Linked DNA regions of Homo sapiens: all the other regions are linked to region 2. The links are contacts of gene promoters, found by promoter capture Hi-C in blood cells and fetal thymus (Javierre and others, 2016). All regions are on one chromosome and are shown on one strand. The core of a region is centred on a gene start or on the middle of the fragment in contact, and the rest is flanking DNA. Distances in the headings are between cores, read along the strand shown.

Region 1 (5,493 bases), core at 2,520-5,019, 1.7 Mb before region 2:
CATTAAGAAAGTAAAAAGATATCCTACAGAATGGGCAAAAATAAGCTTTTATCTGTCTATTCATCTATTGAGTTACTTGTAATTGGAATTAAACATATGCAAATTAGATACATCTAGCCTGAAAATATTAATTTGAATGATGTGAAACTGTATCAGCAATGGAGACAATAAAAATGTGGGTCTTCGCTTAGAGTTAAGGTATAGAGAAAACAAAACAAAACAACAACCTTTGAGAGAACTTTGTAAAATATTAAGGAAGGAAGGCAGTTGTTTCTAGGAATGGCCAAAGGAACAACCCCAAATCAAGATATCATGGTGTTATAAAATTGAAAGAATATACAATTTAATGAAGGGGGCCAGGTGCAGTGGCTCACGCTTATAATCCCAGCACTTTGGGAGGCCAAGGCGGGCATATCACGAAGTCAGGAGATCGAGACCATCCTGGCTAACACAGTGAAACCCCGTCTCTACTAAAAATACAAAAAAAAATTAGCCAGGCGTGGTGGCGGGCGCCTGTAGTCCCAGCTACTCGGGAGGCTGAGGCAGGAGAATGGCATGAACTCAGGAGGTGGAGCTTGCAGTGAGCCAAGATCGCGCCACTGCACTCCAGCCTGGGCGACAGAGTGAGACTCTGTCTCAAAAAAAAAAAAAGAATTTTATGAAGGGGTAAATGTTCAGTAGAATTAATTTCTGCAAAGAACCTAAGCAAAGTAAAGACTCTGACATGACTCCTTCATTTAGAAATGAGTGGCATCTCAGTCATTGTAAGTGTAAGAAAAAGTAAGAATAATATCTGATGCAGAGAGTAACTTTTGATATTTGATAATTCGTTTCCTTCTTATAGCTTCATTTACACTCGTGAAAAGTGAATTGAAACAAATCTAACTAGCATTTCAATGAATGCAGTAGGGTAATGATTTGAAAAAGAACTGACTTGGAAGAAGAAAAGTATTTATTTGTATTCTTAGCAACTTAGTGATGCTTTGAGGCCATAAACTTAGAAAAAGTAATGCTTGGAAAGTTTGTGTCCTTTTCCTTGCAGTCTAAGTTTTTTGTTGTTGTTGTTGCAAATACTAAGTTAAATTTTGGACTGCATAAGATTTGTGTTTTACAGGCAGATGTAATAAAGACCAATGAGGCAAATATATTACACATTTTTTGTTTGTGAAGAGTTTCGATCACCCATGTGGAATGTTAGCTTAATAGAGAAGAATTTAAAAATAGGCATGAGGGAGAGTGAATGACATGTTCAAGGACTGGACATCTTTGTGTTGTCAAAGCATAATTATAGTGAGAGAATAAAAATTAAATAATTAAATTGTAGAGGATTGTGGTCAGAGAAATGGATATCTCAATGTACTATTTTATAAGTTATATCATTCATGATATTGGCTCTGTTTCTAGGTGCTCAGAATACTCAGAAAGTTTTCTTTCACCTATATTTGATTTCTATTTCAAAAGTGTAAGTTTTCTGTGGGTAGGCTTTCATAAGTGTGTGCAAATTAAAAAGCTGTTCTTTAAACAACGGCTTTTGAAATGTAAGTTTTGAATGTAAGTTCGGTTCAGATTTGTGGCTTTGCAAATTATCATGAATTACTGTTGTGAATAGGACCAACATCTACTGTTTATTTGTATCTCTTTTTTCCTCTCCCTTTTAAAATTTTATTTTCATTTTTCTTTATGTATTTAAGTAAAATAATTAAAATATTTATATGTTTGTAAAATAATGAAGCTTTCATTATTTCTGATAAACTGCAAGTTTAGCAGAACATATGCATATAAGTAAGCTTATACATGAACAAAATGAATGAAACTGTGTTTGTTACTGTGAATGCTAACTATGTTAATACTTTTATGTTTATACTGTTTCTACTTGCTGGGAAGAGTGTCATGTTTTTACACATCGCATGGGTGCTAGCATAACAATATGGTTAATATCTTAAAAATTACGGTCTTCAATATGATTTTATGACTTGTGATAAAAAAATTAAGGAAAATGTATCCATCAAAGTTGTAAACCCTTAGGAAATCACTCAGTAATTAAATTTATTCAAATTCTTAAAACAAAAGCATAAAAGTTGATGGCCCGGGACACGTTATTTAAAGTTAATGTGGATTTTAAAGTAAAGAAAAACTAGTAAAGAAGAGATTAATTAAAAGCTACTACATTTTGAAACCAATTCAAAAGAACTCAAGTGAAATTCATTGCCTGGCATCAGTGAAATGCGTGAAAAGTGGCTGTGAGAATCTTAGAGACACACTCCTCAGTACAGTAAAAAATAATGCATCCTTATAAATGTCATTCATTTCTAGATTTTTATTTGAGTAGTAAAAGAATAGTAGGACAAAAATGTGGCCAATATGTAAAACTTTCCAATAATACGTTGAGAAGCAATGTAGTAGAAATGATAAAGAGCATAGGCTTTGCCAATAGAGAGCTCTTGTTTTAATCCCTAGGTGATTTCATGACAGCTAGGTGAATCTCTGCTTCTTGGTTACTGCATTTGCAAAAGTATAAAATGATATGTGCCTGATGCTCAAAGTAGTTTATGTAAATGAAGTTCTGTTCGTGAAGTATTTGACAAATGGTATCTTATGCCCATAAATGGTAGGAAACAAGCTCAGTTTAAATACAAAAAATAAAAGCCATTATTTTATCTTAAGCCTTTTCTATTATCAGGAAGTATATTTCATAATAAGCAAATAATTCATATGTGAGAAAAAATGAGTTGATTAGGTATTCTATTGTAGTTATTTATATATTCTAATATCACTTTTAATCTTGCTTCCAATGAGCTCTACAACTTTAAGATATTTTTTATTTCCTTGGGCATGGTGTCCCATTTCTGTTGATTCAAAGTTGTATAAATGTAAGCATCAATTCTATGAACATTTCAGGAAAATTTCTGCAAACAGATTTTACACATATATAGACACTTATTTTAATAAACATTGAATGCTTACTGCCTTTAGTGCATAGAATCTATTGGTTAGAATAAAAATAAATATGAATTACTAGAACAGGAAAGATGGCATATTGAAGTTGTAGCACAACTTCATTAAAAGAAAAATAAAAGCAGATATCAATGCATCACAATTGAAAGGTATAACATGAGATAGAAACTGAGAAATTAACAAAGTTTGGGTATCACAGCTTGAAAAAAAAACATAAATAGGGGAGAAGAAGCACAGGATAACTGATCACATTGTCCTAGAAGTTTAGAACCTCATAAGGAAGATTCATCAACACCTGCTTAACAGAATTCAGTATCTTCTAAACTACAGTTATTTGGTCTAGATTAAAAAGTATCTGTCTATCTATCTATCTGTCTATCTATCTATCTATCTATCTATCTCTATGTATCTGTCTACCTAGATATATCATATGATTTAAATATAATTAAAATTATGAACCATATTTTAAAATAACCTTTGTAATAGTAAATGTTAGTTTTTGCAGGCATGGCCACAGAGACCATCATATCTCTAGCTCAGATGTACAGCCTTCATACATACAAATATTATTATTTAATGTTGCAGATCAGGTTCCCTGGAAACATAAGTTTGAAGGAAATTTACTAGGGAATGACCTTATGATCAATATTTGTGAGAGAAAATAACAGAAGTATAACTGGGCAGAAGAAAAGTAGTGCTACATTTTAATTATAGCAAGACCTTTGTAAAACCATAGGAGTACTCAGGAGCTGGGATATCCCTTCATATATTTTGTTTGTCAGAGAGATTCATTTGGGCTTTTAAAACTACATATCCACCAGTAATTGGATGAAAGCTGCTTTTCAGAAATGAGACATGAATTTAGGTCTGATAGAGGACAATCCCAGAAGCTCAGGGGTTAGTTTCTGCAGTTTTGGAGGGAGGATTTAGGCAGTGTAATGCAGCACAAGTGAGAGGCTGAATATAAATAAATAGTAAGATGGTATATCACAATGAAATTCTTTTATTTTTTTTTTGAGATGGAGTCACTCTGTCACCCGGGCTGAAGTTCAGTGGCATGATCCCAGTTCACTGCAACCTCTGCCTCCTGGGTTCAAGCAACTCTCCTGCCTCAGCCTCTTGAGTAGCTGGGACTACAGGCATGTACCACCACACCTGGCTAATTTTTTTTTATGTTTCTGGTAGAGACAGCCTCGGCCTCCTGAGTAGCTGGTACTACCAGCATGCGCTATGACACTTGGCTGAATTTTTTTTTTTTAAATTTTGGTAGAGATGGGGTTTCACCATGTTGGCCAGGCTGGTCTTGAACTCCTGACCTCAAGTGATCCGCCCACCTCAGCCTCCTAAAGTACTGACAATTAAATTCTATTTCCCAACCTCTGCAGCAACAAGTTCAGGAAACCAAATCACAACCTGTGCAGCTGTTGGCCTAGAGAGACAGCTGCTATGATTTTAATGTTTTAATGACTGCCATCTCTGTTTTTCATTTGTTTGTTTTCCTCCCACTTTCATCCCTAGACCAAGAAGAGAAAGTCAAATATGCTCCCCAAACCAAACACATAAAATGACCACTTCTGCTTAGCCCACGTTGTTTCTCTGTGCCTGCGTTCTCTCATGAGATAATTCCTGAAGCCTTCCCTTTCTTTTCACTATAAAGTTTTTCTACTCTCTTGCCTGATGTTGACTCTCTGATAAAGGGAAGTGATGGTGACTAACTCCCTTGTTATAGCAACCTCTGAATATATAGACAGACTTTGTTCTTATTTTTGTGGTCTTTTTTTCCACAACCGCTAAAAATTCCAATCAGAGCACACCTAAAACCTTCCCTTTTCCTCACTGTAAAATGTTCCCACACCCTGCCTGCTTTGGAATCTTAGCAAAACACAAGTGATGGAAAATGATTCCCTTGCTGTAAACACTCTGTTAGCATTTCTCTGTCTTCCTTAGAGCACATTTTTTATCTCTATAATTATTCTGATGGCTCAACCAAGATATGATCTGAACTTCTCTTAAATATTACACTATATTGTTTTAATGCCAGAATCAACTCAATTTAGTTCAACTTTGTCAATAACGAAAGTAACAGAATGATGAGTGGTTTTTGTTTGTTTGTTTGTTTGTTTGGAGACGGAGTCTCGCTCTGTCGCCCAGGCTAGAGTGCGGTGGTGCGATCTCAGCTCACTGCAATCTCCGCATCCCAGATTCAAGGTATTCTCCTGCCTCAGCCTCCTGAGTAGCCGGTACTACAGGTGTACACTGCCACACCCAGCTAATTGTTTGTATTTTAGTAGAGACAGGGTTTCACTGTGTTGCCTAGGCTGGTCTTGATCTCCTGAGCTCAGGCAATCCTCCCACCTGGGCCTCCCAAAGTGCTAGGATTACAGGCGTGAGCCACCGCACCTAGCCAGAATGATGAGTTTTATTCAGTGCAATGGATCCCCAGGTTGCAGATCAAGTTACCTGAGCATGCCCAGATGAACCAAACATGCCCAATTTTGACCCCAGGGGCAGCTAGAACAAAAAAGTTAAGCACAGGTG
Region 2 (5,381 bases), core at 1,448-3,947:
TCCTCAGTCTAACTGCACACCACTTTCCAAAGCAATAGCTTCAATCATGCTTCATAAAATCCCCTGCAAGTATACTGTTGGACACATAAATCAGCAAGCTGAGATTTTAGTATTTCTAAGGCAAGACCAGGGATCACTGACTGGTGGCTTTTCCATGGCCCTCTTTACAAGAGAATAAACAAAATCATGAGTTACACTAGGTCTGTTTTTTTAAACAGCTCCCGGTGGTGTGTCTGATACTTGCTGCTGCATCCTTAATTAGAGAACAAAACACTAGCATAGAGGAATTGGACTCCAGGATGAGGATATCTATATCCAAGCATCTCTGACTTCATCAGGACACATGGCATAGAAGTACTATATGTTCCCTTTCACAAAAGCTACGTCTCTCTGATATATATCTGTGTCTCTATGAGTGCCACACATTGTGAAATTGTACTAGATAGAGAGATCTTTACAATGATGGTCTCCTTCTACCCTGTTTCATTACAGTGAATATGGGCTCCCCTTCAGAGATGCTTGTCTCAGAGTGCCTCTTCATAACCACCTCGTATCCTGACTTACAAATTAGCTGAATCACAATTTCACATCTATGTTACATGTACACATCCAAATTTTATGTCTCTGTGTACTATTTAAACCTATATATCTAAACATTTCTAATTTCCTATGTCTCCAAATTCCAACACACTTAGCCTCTACAATGATAAATTCAGATTCCACAACTGAGACATTTTTCTTCTCCAAACCACTCACAATGTAATCCTAAGTCTGCATAAACTTGTTTCCTATTATGCTCCCATTCTGCCCCACACTACCTACACTTATTTAATTGCAGTTGTATTTTAACTGCAATTTTCAGGGATTGTTTCTTGGTGCTCAAAAATACCTGTCTATGCTATAAATGAACAGTTAAACACAATCAGCAGCTATCTGAAAATTAAAGAAGCATATCTGTAGGACATATGTGCATGCTGATCTTTGCTTAAGAACCACTGAATTAACGAATTGGGCTAGTATTAGCTTCAGATGGACATATCTGCAATTTTGCTAAGACTGAAATATTTCATACTCTATGTTAGGAAGGGAAAATGAGCAGAATCTTATCAAGACACTTTACAAACTATAGGAATATCCAACATTTGCATACTGATTTCTGAACATTAAATCTGCATCCAATCGTGTTTCATCCGCCACTAACACTATAGCTGTGGGGAGGAGAAGGGCAGAAAAAGGAAGGCTTCACATCCAAAATGTCAAGCCCTGCTGAAGAATGATAGAAGGACTCTGTGGAAGAGCAGAAACCAACTTCTGGGCTTAAAATGGAGTTCTACCACCCCCTGCTGGACCAAACGAGCAATACAGAAGAGGCTAAAAATGCTTAGAACTGAATATCTTGGGGATATTTTAACTTGTCTTGTAATTTATTATATTATTTTAAAAAACCAATTTCACACTACACTAACAACATAACATTCTTTGCAATCATTACATATCTCAAAATTAGTGCTATTTTATTTTTCCTTTAAAGACTTTCACCAATGCATGTTTTAGCATTTTGTGTCCCTAATTAAACGTCCAAACTTGTCTGGACAGTTGAAAATGCTTCCATTTATTGTAAATATATTTCATGTGAGTGTTTACTATCTAAACAGCCAGATAAATTCATATCTATCTCTCTAGAGACAAACAGTGATAGCTTCCACAAATTCCCTCTCAGGTTATTCTACCAGGCTATTCATTTTTTTTTTTTAAGAGATAAAAGCTTCCACCAGTTCTCCCACAACCCCAAAAATCCTCTACAGGTGTAATTACAATGTAATGTTATAAAATGATTCCACCTTTCTGTATTAATAAGGGGTTGGGGTCAAAATGAATGACTGCAACACATCCCTAGTTTTATCCATTTGCTTTCTTACACACAATATCCACGGCCCCTCTCTTAGTTTCCAACAGAAATAAGCCATCATCATTCACTTCATAGTCAGGAATTAGGGTTTTGGGAAAGGGGTGGAAAAAAAAAAGAGTCTCCAAGAATCGAACGTCTTGCACACAGCAGATATTTTGCAAATGAGTTTAACACTGATAGTTTTTGCTGCTTCTGTAAAACACCATCGTGCCCTTTCCTTCCGCAACCTCAGATATTTCACTGTTAACACACTCATCCAATTTCTGATAATAAAAATAAGAGAAAGCCATAATCCCAGAGGAAAAAAAAAGAAGAAGAAGAAGCGGTTTCCCTGGATATCCTGCTCACCGATTCCCCTCTCCAATTCTGTATTTTCCCTTCTCTTATTTAAGGGTCTCCACACAACAGATACAATTTTAGGGACAGCTAGGAGAAAGAACGAAAATAATAATAACAACAACAGCAATAACTGTAACTTTAGTTCTTTCATTTCATTCTTCCTGCGCCTCCCTCTTTGCCTCTCTTGGCCGGGTGGAAGGGGGAGGGAAAGTAAATGCAATAAAGCGCCACACTCCTACCTTGCCCGCTACTGACAAGCAACCCCAGCAGGTAGAAGGAGAGGAGGAGGCTCATGTTCAGGACGTGACACCGGTGGACAGTTTCAAAGTTATTAAGTCCAGCCCTGGAGAGAGAACCTTTCGCTGCCCCGGCCGCCTCTGCTAGAGCCGCCGCCGCCGCTCCCGCGGTGCCCCAGCCGCCCGCAGCCCGCGCGCTCCTCCTCGCAAAGTGACTGCAAGCTCCGCTCTTGCCGCACTATATCCAGGCAGCGGCGGCGGCAGCGGCGGCAGAAGCAGCAGCAGCAGCGGCCGCCGCGGCGGCAGCAGAGCCGGGCGGGGAGGGCGGCGGGGGCGGGGGCGCGGCGAGGGGAGGTGCGGCCGAGGCGTATCCCTCCGCGCTGCACGGCGGCCGCTCTTCCGCGAGGCGCGCGGTCCCGGGATTCGTCCGCAGTGGAGCTCGAAGTCACGGGTTCGGTCCCCGGTGCCTCCGCCTAGAGGGGCGGCCGCGATCGCGAAGGCGCCACTCGCCCGCCGGCCATCCGCAGGTTCATGCACGCCCTGAGCCGAGAAGGGCGTGGGGATGGGGGCAGCCTGGAGCTCCTTCACAGCCGCCGGCTGCCTCAGGACAGCTGAGCTGATGCTGAGCTGAGCTGAGCTGAGCTGATGCTCATGCAGATGCTGATGCTGATGCTGATGCTGATACTGATACTGCAGGCGACCGCCCCGAGCGCGCCCCGGCTCAACGTGAATGGGGGATCTGGAGGCGGGCGGTGTGCCCCGCAGCTTATTCCTTTTGGGCGTGGGAGGAGGGAGATTCTTGTCTCTCCGTGGACCTCCTTCTCCCTCTCTCGCTCAAACCTGGAGCAGGCTGGCCCCTTGCGCGGCTGTCCCCTTCCCACGCTCCCCACCCCGCCGCGACAGAGGGGAAGCAATTGTACCCTAAAGTCTACACTGTCTGTCTCCTCAGGCGCTAAAGGGTGGGCGGAAAAATAACGTACAGAGTGTTTCCTCTACATCTCGACCCATTGCTGTTGGGAGCGGCACCTTACGGGAGAGACACTGGAGAGGGGACGAGCCGCGGGAGGGGCTGCGTTCAACTCAGCCTTAGCCTCAGCTGTGTCCTTAGAGGCCTGAAGTCTCTCCTGGCCTCACTCCGCGGGCTCTGCCCTCGGTCCCAGTGCGCTGCACTGGCCAGATCCCCGCCAGGAGTGCACCGAGGGAGGACTGCAAATGTGCAAAGATGAGTTGGGTCGCGGGGGGGAGACCTTCCCCAGATCAGTGCCCTACCCCGAACACCCACGTACCCGCGTGTGCGAGTGTAAATTGAAGTGAGGGAGCCGTGGCAAACGCCCGGAACTAACTCTCTGCTCCTTAAGATTGGGGCTTATCGTTATTTCTCCTAGAAGGGTAGGAAAACGTTTGTGAGATTAACGTCACCTCTCCTGCAAGAGCGGTTAAGAGGCAGAATCACCGGCCCGGGTGCGGAGCCCATGTCAATCTGGCCTGGGGTTACCGCGACCTGCAAACGCTGACGATGGGTCCTTTCATCTGCACTTTCTCTCTGGCTCCTTAGAAAACTCAACTGCCTCGCCCCGGCCTCCACAAGGACCCTAGCTCCTTCCTTATCAGTGAGGACATAGAAATAGCGGGGGTTGGAGAGGGGGGAGGTAGAAATGTAGAGCTCAGAATCCAGCCCCAGCCTGGGGATTTCACGCTGAAAAGGGCAGTGCATTGCCTTCAGGGAGGGCAGGGGGCAAGAGTAGACACAGGCTAACATGCATAGGGGAGATACCGTCTGCGATTTGTCCTCCCCAGGCAGAGCGCTTTATACAGATGATTCGTCCACTTGGCATCCTGGGATGGGGTTATCAGGAAGAGAGGAGGGGAAAGGCGGCCCTCAACTCACCATCGCTGAACTGCCTTAAGCAATGGCCCTCTCAGCACCTCACAGCTAGAGAACCTCTTATTTCCTCTTGATCTTATAGCAGACAATATATTTAGAAAGTTATTTTGCCACGGTACCCTTCTCACACCCTTTACTGGTTCTGGAATGCACTAACCACACTTAAGTAAACTCATGGTCAGCTCTTTGCAGGAAAGGGTGGAAGTAGCACATTTATAGATGTGAAAGACCGTGACTCATTTATTTACTCCAATTCTTCATTTCTCTTGGGCATTGATAAATGCTACACAGTAGGCCTTCTGCGTCCACAGTTCTACATCCTCAGATTCTACCAACCATGGATGAAAAATAACTTTAAAAAAAATGAAACAATGATACAATCAAAATAACGTAAATAAAAAAATACAGCAAAGTGACTATTTACAAAGCATTTGCATTATATAATGTATTACACCTAATCCAGAGATGATGTAATATGCAGGAGGTTATATGCAAATTTATGCTATTTTATATAAGGGACTTGAGCATCCAAGGATCTGTGAGAGTATTGAAACTAGTCCCCCCTGTGGATACCAAAGAATGACTTCAGCACACACACACACACACACACACACACACACACACACACACAAAATCACAGAAGACAGTTAAAAGTATACTCTGTGTGTCAAATAGCATCTTCACACAGCCTGCAATTTTTCAACCTGACACTGGGAGTGGCCAAGTGCCTATCACACACACATACATGCACATCTGTTAATCAGGTGGAAATATTGACAACTGAATTCTCCTCTGTGTTATTAGAAGTCAAATTACTTTCAGGCTGGGCGTGGCTCATACCTGTAATCCCAGCACTTTGGGAGGCTGAGGTGGGCGGATCACAAGGTCAGGAGTTCAAGACCAGCCTGGCCAATATGGTGAAACCCCGTCTCTACTAATAATACAAAAATTAGCCAGGGGTGGTGGCACACCTCTAGTCCCAGCTACTCAGGAGACTGAGGCAGAAGAATCG
Region 3 (4,954 bases), core at 128-2,627, 1.8 Mb before region 2:
TTGTCAACCTCTGGTATCCTCAGCTCAGCGGGGAAGAATTTAAGGCAGGCAGAGACTTAGAAATTTGCTTGACTTATTGTGGTGCAGGTCTCTCAAATGTGAAAGGTGTCCAAGTATTTTAATTGTTCATGATTTCTTTAAAAGGACTTTTAGAATTTTAGGTCTAATTTTGACAAATTTCCCAAAGTTATTTTATAAATATTTTGTAATACTAACTATATTGTCTATTTAATATTCACAATTTTTATATTTTGAGCAAAATTGTAATCTGGGTACTTACTGAAGAAAACATACAATTTTGTATGTCACTTATAAAATGAGGAGAGATAAAATTTTTATGTATGACCCATTAACACTATATGATGTGTTACTGATTTATATTAAGATTTACATAAAAATGAACTAAGTAACAGAGAGAAAATTTGATAACATTCATTGAAAGATATTATTTGAGTCTAATTCTTTAAAGCACATAGTATTAATCGCTCCATTTACAAAGAGGACTTTACCGATAAAAATGTCTCCACAGAGGCAACATATATAAAAACACTTCTTCTACAGATTTGTAATTGTGCTTTCTGCAGTTTCAAGATGAATCTCTTAGTTTCCCCATCAGCTTTTTCATTTTCTTTTAGAATCAGCTTTTTCATTTTCTCTTAGAATCAGCTTTAATCAATCTTTATGGACCAATATATTGTGAACTTAATGTTCTATTGTCACAGAGGATTATGTGAAAGCTTATTATACATCCATGTTTTCTGTGACAGTCCAGTATATGCTTGATTTCCTGATTTCTTGGCACAGTAATAAATAGCCATTCTTTTACTCTCATCCTGTTTTGTTTGATAAATTACAAGATTACCCCATATAGAAGGAGCCTCAGCAAGTGTTTTTTCATTTAATGTGGTTGTATATTTCAGATATTTCTTTCCTCATCCAAGATCTCAGTCAGGAGCTTCAAAGTGAAGGCTCAGAAATGTCTGAATGCCCATATATATTTATTTATTTATTAAATAATAAATAATGATAAGACAAAAATTATTATTATATATGCAAATAGTGTATTAGTGCATTCTCATGCTGCTTTGAAGAAATACCTAAGACTGGGTAATTTATAAAGAAGAGAGGTTTAATTGACTCTCAGTGCCACATTGCTGGGGAGGCCTCAGGAAACTTACAATCATGGTGGAAGGCACCTCTTTACAGGGTGGCAGGAGAAAAAATGAGTACTGAGAAAAGGGGGAAAAGCTCCTTACAAAACCATCAATTCACTTGAGAAGTCATTCAGTATCACAAGAACAGCATGAGGGTAACTGCCCCCGTGATTTAATTCCCTTTCACTGGGTCCCTCCCACAACACGTGGACACTATTGTAACTGAAATTAAAGATGATGTTTGGGTGGGGATACAGCCAAACTATATCAAATAGCAAGTTACGATACTCTTTAAAAGTTTTTAAAATAATTTCAAGCAGAAAAAGTCAGGACAGTCCAAAAACATGCTGTTATAATATTAAAATATACAAACACATTGTGTCTTTAAAACTGAATTATGAATGTTTCTTGGTTGTTTATTTTATATACAGGATTTTAAACCTCAGGCATAATTGCAGAAATATTTAAACAAAGCAATTTTGATGCTTATACATTGATTTAATTTATATGCTATAATGGTTAATTTTTATTATTTAAAATTATTTGTTCCAGATACTGAATTTTAACAATTTCAGTTCCCATTTGCATTGGCATTAAAGAAGTTAACCTTCCCATTGCTCTGCAATGTCCCAATCACTTGTAAGTTTTCAGTTCATTGTTTCTTCCAATATCTTGCCTACTCAAGTCCTCGTTGCTTTACAGGTCTGATCTTCAATTTGTCTTTCTAGCTCTTTAATATTGTAAAAGCAGCTCCCTCCTGTGTGCAATCTTTGGGTGGATGTTCAGTGGTTTTTCCACCAAGTTTGGAGAAGATTCAAGAGAAAATGAGCCCAATAAAATCAATTCTTTACTCCGAAGCTTCCTACTCATCAGCAACTTGGCCCCTCAGTCTCTGGTTACCTAGGCAGCTATCTTATTTTTTTTTTTTTTTTTTTTTATTATACTCTAAGTTTTAGGGTACATGTGCACATTGTGCAGGTTAGTTACATATGTATACATGTGCCATGCTGGTGCGCTGCACCTACTAATGTGTCATCTAGCATTAGGTATATCTCCCAATGCTATCCCTCCCCCCTCCCCCGACCCCACCACAGTCCCCAGAGTGTGATATTCCCCTTCCTGTGTCCATGTGATCTCATTGTTCAATTCCCATCTATGAGTGAGAATATGCGGTGTTTGGTTTTTTGTTCTTGCGATAGTTTACTGAGAATGATGGTTTCCAATTTCATCCATGTCCCTACAAAGGATATGAACTCATCATTTTTTATGGCTGCATAGTATTCCATGGTGTATATGTGCCACAGCCATCCCATTACTGGGTATATACCCAAATGAGTATAAATCATGCTGCTATAAAGACACATGCACACGTATGTTTATTGCGGCACTATTCACAATAGCAAAGACTTGGAACCAACCCAAATGTCCAACAATGATAGACTGGATTAAGAAAATGTAGCTATCTTATTTTTAAAGAGAGACTATTCTTGAATTTTCATCTGCATTTTTCAGTTGTTCTTGATCTGCTGTGAGTTACTTCATCTTATTCAAAATCAGAACCTAAAACATTTATTCAGTGAAGAAATTATTTTTTCTTCAGAAGCAAAAATGTGGAATTTACAATAAAACCTCTTCAGAGAGGATAAGAGACAATTCTCTCAGTTAAATTGAAAAAAAATTTGGAATGTGTAGATCATTGAACTATTTTAATCATTGTAGTAAAATTTTGGCAGTATTTTATTGCACACTTTTTTCTAATCCAGTATGTTTAATATCTAAACCAGGTATATTTAATTAAGAATATTAGAAATATAAGCTACAAATCTAATTTTCTAATTTAGTATGATAGAAAAATAAAATGTTCTGTTTAATATTTCTTCAAATTGATTTAATACATTGATGCTATGTAAATTACCTTTCAACAAAATGAAAAATATGCTTAAATTATTGAAAAAATACTGTACATGTTTCTAGATAATGAATCTCCCATTACTTTATTTTATTTATTTATTTTTTGCTAAATCAAATTGTGGTTTAAACATTAGATTATGTTTTCAATCACAATAGCATTACTTTCATAATTCTTCAACAAAATGCATTTATGATGCTTTTGGTATGTAGTATGGCCCTTTCAAAATGCTTGTGTATGCCTGCAAATACTTAGTTCCTTGTTTTTATGCTCTTGAGGAGCAGATAATATATTTTTTAGTTGCTGCTTAGCAGTTAACGTAATGTATGGCAAATAAGTTTTCAGAAAGTATATTTTTAGAAAAAAACATTGATGACATACTTCAATTCTTGATTCTCATTGGACAATTATTGATCTCTCAAAAAAGTCCTTTATCATCAGTGTAATATTTTATCACCACATTAATCTTATGTGTTTTTTTAATTATACTTTAAGTTTTAGGGTACATGTGCACAACGTGCAGGTTTGTTACATATGTATACATGTGCCATGTTGGTGTGCTGCATCCATTAACTCGTCATTTAACATTAGGTATATCTCCTCATGCTATCCCTCCCCACCTCCCCACCCCACAACAAGCCCCGGTGTGTGATGTTCTTTACCTCTCTTTGAAGTGTTTTATAAAATATTATTACATATTTATATGCTTGTTTTAGTTTGTTTACCTTATAAATATGCTTTGATATATATGTATAAGCTATAGCAAAGAAGTTATTATGTTATAATTAGATGGATCTTATATTAATAATTATATAGCTGAAAAGGTGTCCTATAAATTGACAAGAAAATATGAGGACTGAAATATGTCTCAGGTTTTGAAATTCCATTGTATATTACATATACTGATATTTCAACACTACATTATTATATTTAGTAATATAAATTTTAAAACCAGTCATTACTTCTATATATACGAAAAATCATTTTTGAATTAGAGGAAAAAAATCATTATGTGTTAACAAATGAGTTTAACACTATACTATGTATCAAATGAAATGAAAATGTTTGGGCAATGATTAAAAATGTTTAACCTTATTTCCTTATTGTTTTCCAAAAACAAGAAAACACTAATTTATTATTTATTGATCTAGTGTTTCTTATATAGAGACCAATTATGTGTTTTAAGTATTAAAAAATAAGATATTTTGATTCCTCCACCTCAAAAGCTGTAATTTTATATAACTATCTGGTACACATGCAGCTTACAGTGTAGAGTAAACCAAACAATTCCCTGTTACTCAATGTGTTGAATTTTACATTCTTAAATTATCTTCTGAGGAAACACAACATTGAATAAGTAAGGAAAATAAAGCATTATCAAATATTAGCAAAAAACACTTTATTTCATAATTTAAAAACAGGAATTTCTTTAAGATTTAATAATCAATGTGTGAGAATTTAGAATAGGTGTCAATATGTCATTACCCTAATTAAATTTTCTTCATCAGTTTTTATTTGTTTATTCATTCACTCTTTTTCAATAAATAATGACACTTATGTGCACAGTACATGATAAGGTTTTTCCAAGTTTGTATGATAAATTAGTAAACCAGTGTAAAAATAAGACTTTATTATGAAAATCATTACCTGAAATGTCTTATGTCCTTCATCAACTTCTGTTATGAGCTTTGTCTTTTTGCACTTAAAATCATTACTATTATTAATATTTGTATGTATAAATTTAAATAGGTCCAGAATTGTGCACCAACATATTTTATAATAGTAATTTTTTATTCAAACAAGTTAACCTTTTTGGTATAATACATTTATTATACTGGCAGATGCAATTTCCAGTTCATTACTTATTTTGATAACAACAGGAAATAAGTGA
Region 4 (5,386 bases), core at 1,295-3,794, 1.8 Mb before region 2:
AATTCTATCCTTCTCCATGGCTGCTAGTGCTAATCAGTCACCTATAAATTCGTTGGTAAATTGTTTAATATGTAATTGTTTGGATCATATAATGCTATCATTTTATATTAGGTCCTTCACATCTCAAAATCATTAAAATCTGTAAACTCAAATTCTCAAACTTTACTCCTGTTCCTGTTTCTACCTGACATATTTCTACCATTCCTAACACCGTATTAACTCTCCTTAAACATTGCTTTAAATGCAATGTTGAGATCTCCATTTGTTTATTTATTTATTTATATTTTTGAGACAAAGTCTCACTCTGTTGCTCAGGGTGGAGTGCAGTGGCGTAATCTTGGCAATTTCTGCCTCCCGCTTCAAGCAATTCTCCTGCCTCAACCTCCCAAGTAGCTGGGGTTATAGGCACCTGCCACTATGCCTAGCTAGTTTTTGTATTTTTTGTAGACACAGGGTTTCACCATGTTGGCCAGGCTGGTCTGGAACTCCTGACCTCAGAGGATCCACCCACCTGAGACTCCCAAAGTGCTGGGATTACAGGCATAAGTCACCACACCCAGCTGAAATCTCCAAATCCTTTTTGGGGAATGATACCTAATCTCTGTAGTTTAACTACTGAGAGTTTCTACAATTTGGCCTTCACTTTGCTTTCCAACCCCATCTTTCCTAAATGTACTATGGATAGATACTTTATGACAAGATAAGTATGAAAAAAATTCTGTTTCTAAGGAATACATTTCTCTTTCACTATTTTCAAAATAGTGGTTCTGATGCTGAACTTTATCCTGAATGCATGCTCACAATTATACATAGATAAAAATCAACCCCTTTTGTTTAATTCTTAATATTCTCCATTTATCCTCCAGATCCAATCTCCACAATCTTTACCCTTGTCCAAACTTTTATGTGCCCCAGTTAGTTAATACTTTAAAGTCTCAATTGCTTACCAATAGCTGTATTTATCTGCTGAAGACCTCAGCTTCTGATAGGCAGTTCTTATATCCAGCACTACACGACAAAAATATAGCTTCCTCTGCTTTTCAAGACTGGAGGTGATGAATGCTTTCTGATGTTACTATTCCTGGATGCCTCAGAATCTTCTCTCTTCTCTTAACTCTTCCCACACATTTGTAAATGATCCTTTTATTTACTCTTTTTAATCCTTGACTGTGCCAACCCTTTGTTTTTAGCATCCTTAGTAATGCAACTGGCAACACTAAGCTCTTTATGAAGCCAGAAGCATCCCACCCGCTGTAATAATATTATCCAGACACTGCCAGTGTTCTCCAGCCAAAAGACCACTAGAAGCACACTTGTATTTAAACAAAGTTGGGCATGGTAGTTCATTGCAAGGAAAATCATAAACCAGAATTATGAGACATCTCACTAAAATTTTAGGAAATACTTATGGAATTTGGGGTTGTGTTTAGTGATTTGGAGGATGGTTCCTGAAAGCAAGATTTTTTTTCCTTTCAGGAAGGAGTAAGGCCAAGATTGTGTATCCTATCCATCAGATCTAGAAAGATGAAAACTTGAAATGAGGTTGAAGTTTTCATTGGAAGAAAGCAGCAGTAAGCTGAGAAATGGAAATGTTTGATAATTTGGGGGTATGATGAGTGACCTTCTTTTTTTTTTTTTTCTCTAGGCTTAGCTTTTTGTCTCCTTTGTAGTACACAATGTGACCTTGTCTAATACTGGTTTTCTGTGAAATTGTTTACTTTCAACTGGAGGTCATCGAAGGATGACTGTGCATGCCAGATAGCTCCTGAGGACACCACAGTCTAGCAGTGAGAGTCAGATCAGTGCCCGGCTACCTGGAGCTGCTTATTCTCTTACCACTTAACCTCTGTAACAACATTCTCTTCATATGTTGATGTTCAGTTCAAACATTGCCCACTTTATTATGACATACAGACTTGATTATAATTTTTTCTTAGACATACTATTTCTTTTGCTGCTCTTTTATACCACAAATTAGCTTTTATGAACATCAACACTTTATATGCTTATCTTGCTCCCCTCAATTAGATGATAAATTCATAAAAATTAGTAACTGATTTTATGTTTTATTTTCCCTTCCAAAAAGCAGTGTTTTATATGCAGCATATATGTGTGTGCACGTGTGTGTATATTAATAAATAAGTTTTAAATTAATACTGATTGTACACATTAAAAAGTTGCAGATGGCTTCAAAAAGAGGGGACGCTGGCCTTTAGTGATGAACATGTTTTTACAAAATGTTCTTGATAACATGAAATATGTAAATTTATTTCTCTCATACACTAAATTGATTAGTGAATTTAGAGAATTAAAAAAAGATGTTTTTCATTTGACTACTACATCTTCCACTATATATTGAATTTCTAAGGATACGATTCTCAATACATTTCTGGAGTAGTACTGCTCAGCCAATATGTTAATTCTTTAATATTTTGATTTTAACAGAATGTAGGCGTGTAGCATCTTATGGAGAATATTGTTCTCTTTAAAATTGTTAAGATAATGAGCCTGAACTAATAAAAATTATACTTAGCATTATGGTGATACTTTCTGCAAAGTATGCAAGTTAATGTTTGCTATTTATAAATATGTACATATGGTTCACAGCATCAGCACCCAATTAAAACCCAAAGGGAAGACACAAATGCATTGGCACTCATGTCTAAATAAGTGCTTAATTATATTTACATGGGTTTCTGTTAATGAAAACTATATCATTCATTCCTTTCTACTTTCATGCCTAAACCATCTTATATGGTTGTCTGTTTTGACTAAGGCTTTCCTAGAGGCAAGTGATTCCAATTGTACTACATAATTTGGTTATAAATATTTTATCCCATTCCATATTACCAAATGTTAGAAATATTACATATTTATTTATAAATTTTGGTTTTGAGCCTCCAGTTTTTTCTTTTGTTCTACACACTAGCTTTAAAGCCTACAAAAGCAGAAAAAGAAATCAGCACTTTTTCTCTTAGAGGACACTATTTTGAGTATGAAAGCAAATAAAAGGCCATGGAAATCAGGTGAGTTTCCTGTTGATTGCTCTGCGATACGAAATTTAATATAATGTTTAAGAGAAAAAATAGAGCCCTATTTGCAAATATGATATGTAATACTCCCAGTGAGTTCTTCCCAAGCTCATTTTCACCTCCAAGCAAAAGGGGAATTAAAAAGCAACACTAGGCCGGGCGCAGTGGCTCACGCCTGTAATCCCAGCACTTTGGGAGGCCGAGGCGGGTGGATCATGAGGTCAGGAGATCGAGACCATCCTGGCTAACAAGGTGAAACCCCGTCTCTACTAAAAATACAAAAAAAAATTAGCCGGGCGCGGTGGCGGGCGCCTGTAGTCCCAGCTACTCGGGAGGCTGAGGCAGGAGAATGGCGTGAACCCGGGAAGCGGAGCTTGCAGTGAGCCGAGATTGCGCCACTGCAGTCCGCAGTCCGACCTGGGCGACAGAGCGAGACTCCGTCTCAAAAAAAAAAAAAAAAAAGCAACACTATTCTCCAAAGTGTGTCCTTCTGAAGGTGGAAAAACGGAGAAGTTCTACATGGGAAATGTTAACACAGGTTCACTATATTAAAGCAAACAGTATATCTGGGCATGTTGTAATAAAAATCCTGGATTAAACATGAATCGACTAGAAATAAATAATATGGCAAATATAAAATCTCATGACAGAAGGGTAAGTAAATTTGAAAAAGAAGGATTAAAAATGTAATACTTTCAAAAATAAGTGACCAAAAAATTCCCTGAAGTGTCTCATATGATAAAATTAGAACCTTTAGCTAACGTGAGCTCAAGACCTCAAAGATGTGATGACTAAGCAGGTAAATGAGTTGAAAATAGAGACTGAAGCGCAATTAGAAACCATGAGGCACACAGAAGTCACTGATAAAAATCTAATCAGGCCAGGCGTGGTGGCTCACATCTGTAATCCCTGCACTTTGGAGGCTGAGGCAGGTGGATCACTTGAGGCCAGGAATTTGAGACCAGCTTGGCCAACATGGGGAAACTCTGTCTCTACTAAAAATACAAAAATTATCTGGGCATGGTGGTGGATGCCTGTAATCCCAGCTACTTGGGAGGCTGCGGCAGGAGAATCGCTTGAAACCCGAGGGGCAGAGGTTTCAGTGAGCCAAGATCACGACACTGCAGTCCAGCCTCGGCGACAGAGTGAGACTCTGTCACACACACACCAAAAAGAAAATCTAATCAATATATGAAGGGGAACTTTTATATTATTATAATTAATGTGGAATAAAAATTAGAAAATAGACTAGGAAATTAGAAAAATAATAAGTAATATGGAAGATAAAATATTATCCAGTATAATAACTTCTATAGAAATAAAATTATTTATTTCTAATAGAAGAAAAACATCAAAAATGAAAGTACATCTTATAGCATACTTTTTTTTTACTTGAAAAAATTCACAAGTATTTACTATCAATCCATGTTAATCTTTAAACTGGATATGAGTGATGAGTTCATTATTAACAGGTTTACACAAAAGGATGAAAAGAGAAGTAGAATTTTGCTGAAATAATTTACAATTCATTAGAAATTTACAATAAGATTAATTACTAAATGTAGGCAGAAGGTGGATCACCTGAGGTCAGGAGTTCGAGACAAGCCTGGCCAACATGGTGAAACCCCCGTCTCTACTAAAAATACAAAAAATTAGCCAGGCATAGTGGCAGGCGCCTGTAATCCCAGCTACTCAGGAGACTGAAGCAGGAGAAATCCGGGAGGCAGGGGTTGAAGTGAGCTGAGATCATGCCATTGCACTCCAGCCTGGGCAATAATAGCAAAAGTCTGTCAAAAAAGAAGGGAAGAGAGAAGGAGAGAGAGAGAGAGAGAGAGAGAGAAAGAAGAGAGAAGAGAGAGAGAAAGGAGAGAATGAGAGAGAGGGAGAGAGAAAGAAAAGAAAAAAAAGAGAGACAAATTCTCAAATATGAAAGAGTGTGTCTCTGGCTGTGGAAAACAGGCATGTTTCCGGCCCTGCGTAAGTCTCAAGCATTGTTCTCTCTAAACTTTTCAGGTGGTTTTCTCTGGATTTTGATAGTTTCCTCACACACACGCACTGATTTCTACTTAACTGAATATTCTGGACGAATCTTTTGAGATCTCTGGATTTTATTTTATCGCAGTTTTCCCTTCTCCTGTACTCTTTTTTATGAACTCTAGCTATCTTGACTTCTTTGAACTTCTAGCTGTGTCTCCTCACTTGGAGTAGATTTCCTGGATTTCCCAGTCCTGTGCCATGGCCTATTAACATTCTCTAAGCAATAAATTGGGGCAGTCATTAGGCTTACCTTGTCCATTTCCCTAGTCGACTGAGACAATGAATTATTACTATCAAGAAAAAATGAGTTGTCAATA

The links. The method cuts DNA at HindIII sites, captures the fragments that hold promoters and counts their contacts. A CHiCAGO score of 5 or more calls a contact.
Region 1: a fragment that was not itself captured here is called in contact with the fragment with the promoter of NCAM2 in region 2 in 2 of 17 cell types (monocytes and M2 macrophages); the score reaches 5.6 in monocytes.
Region 3: a fragment that was not itself captured here is called in contact with the fragment with the promoter of NCAM2 in region 2 in 1 of 17 cell types (M2 macrophages); the score reaches 5.6 in M2 macrophages.
Region 4: a fragment that was not itself captured here is called in contact with the fragment with the promoter of NCAM2 in region 2 in 9 of 17 cell types (M2 macrophages, M1 macrophages, monocytes and 6 more); the score reaches 16.1 in M2 macrophages.

What each region holds. Positions count from the first base shown.
Region 1 is chr21:22,731,284-22,736,776 of GRCh38, reverse strand. No RefSeq gene overlaps it. Among named protein-coding and RNA genes, the nearest start is that of MIR6130, 350 kb to the left of the region's middle. The HindIII fragment of the contact is 3,960 bases long and covers 1,790-5,493 here.
Region 2 is chr21:20,995,725-21,001,105 of GRCh38, reverse strand. It overlaps NCAM2 (neural cell adhesion molecule 2), which reads right to left and starts at 2,697. Exons shown (of 18, transcript NM_004540.5): 1 at 2,488-2,697. The coding sequence starts at 2,542. The HindIII fragment of the contact is 4,236 bases long and covers 1,768-5,381 here.
Region 3 is chr21:22,749,954-22,754,907 of GRCh38, reverse strand. No RefSeq gene overlaps it. Among named protein-coding and RNA genes, the nearest start is that of MIR6130, 330 kb to the left of the region's middle. The HindIII fragment of the contact is 1,275 bases long and covers 740-2,014 here.
Region 4 is chr21:22,769,654-22,775,039 of GRCh38, reverse strand. No RefSeq gene overlaps it. Among named protein-coding and RNA genes, the nearest start is that of MIR6130, 310 kb to the left of the region's middle. The HindIII fragment of the contact is 5,831 bases long and covers 1-5,386 here.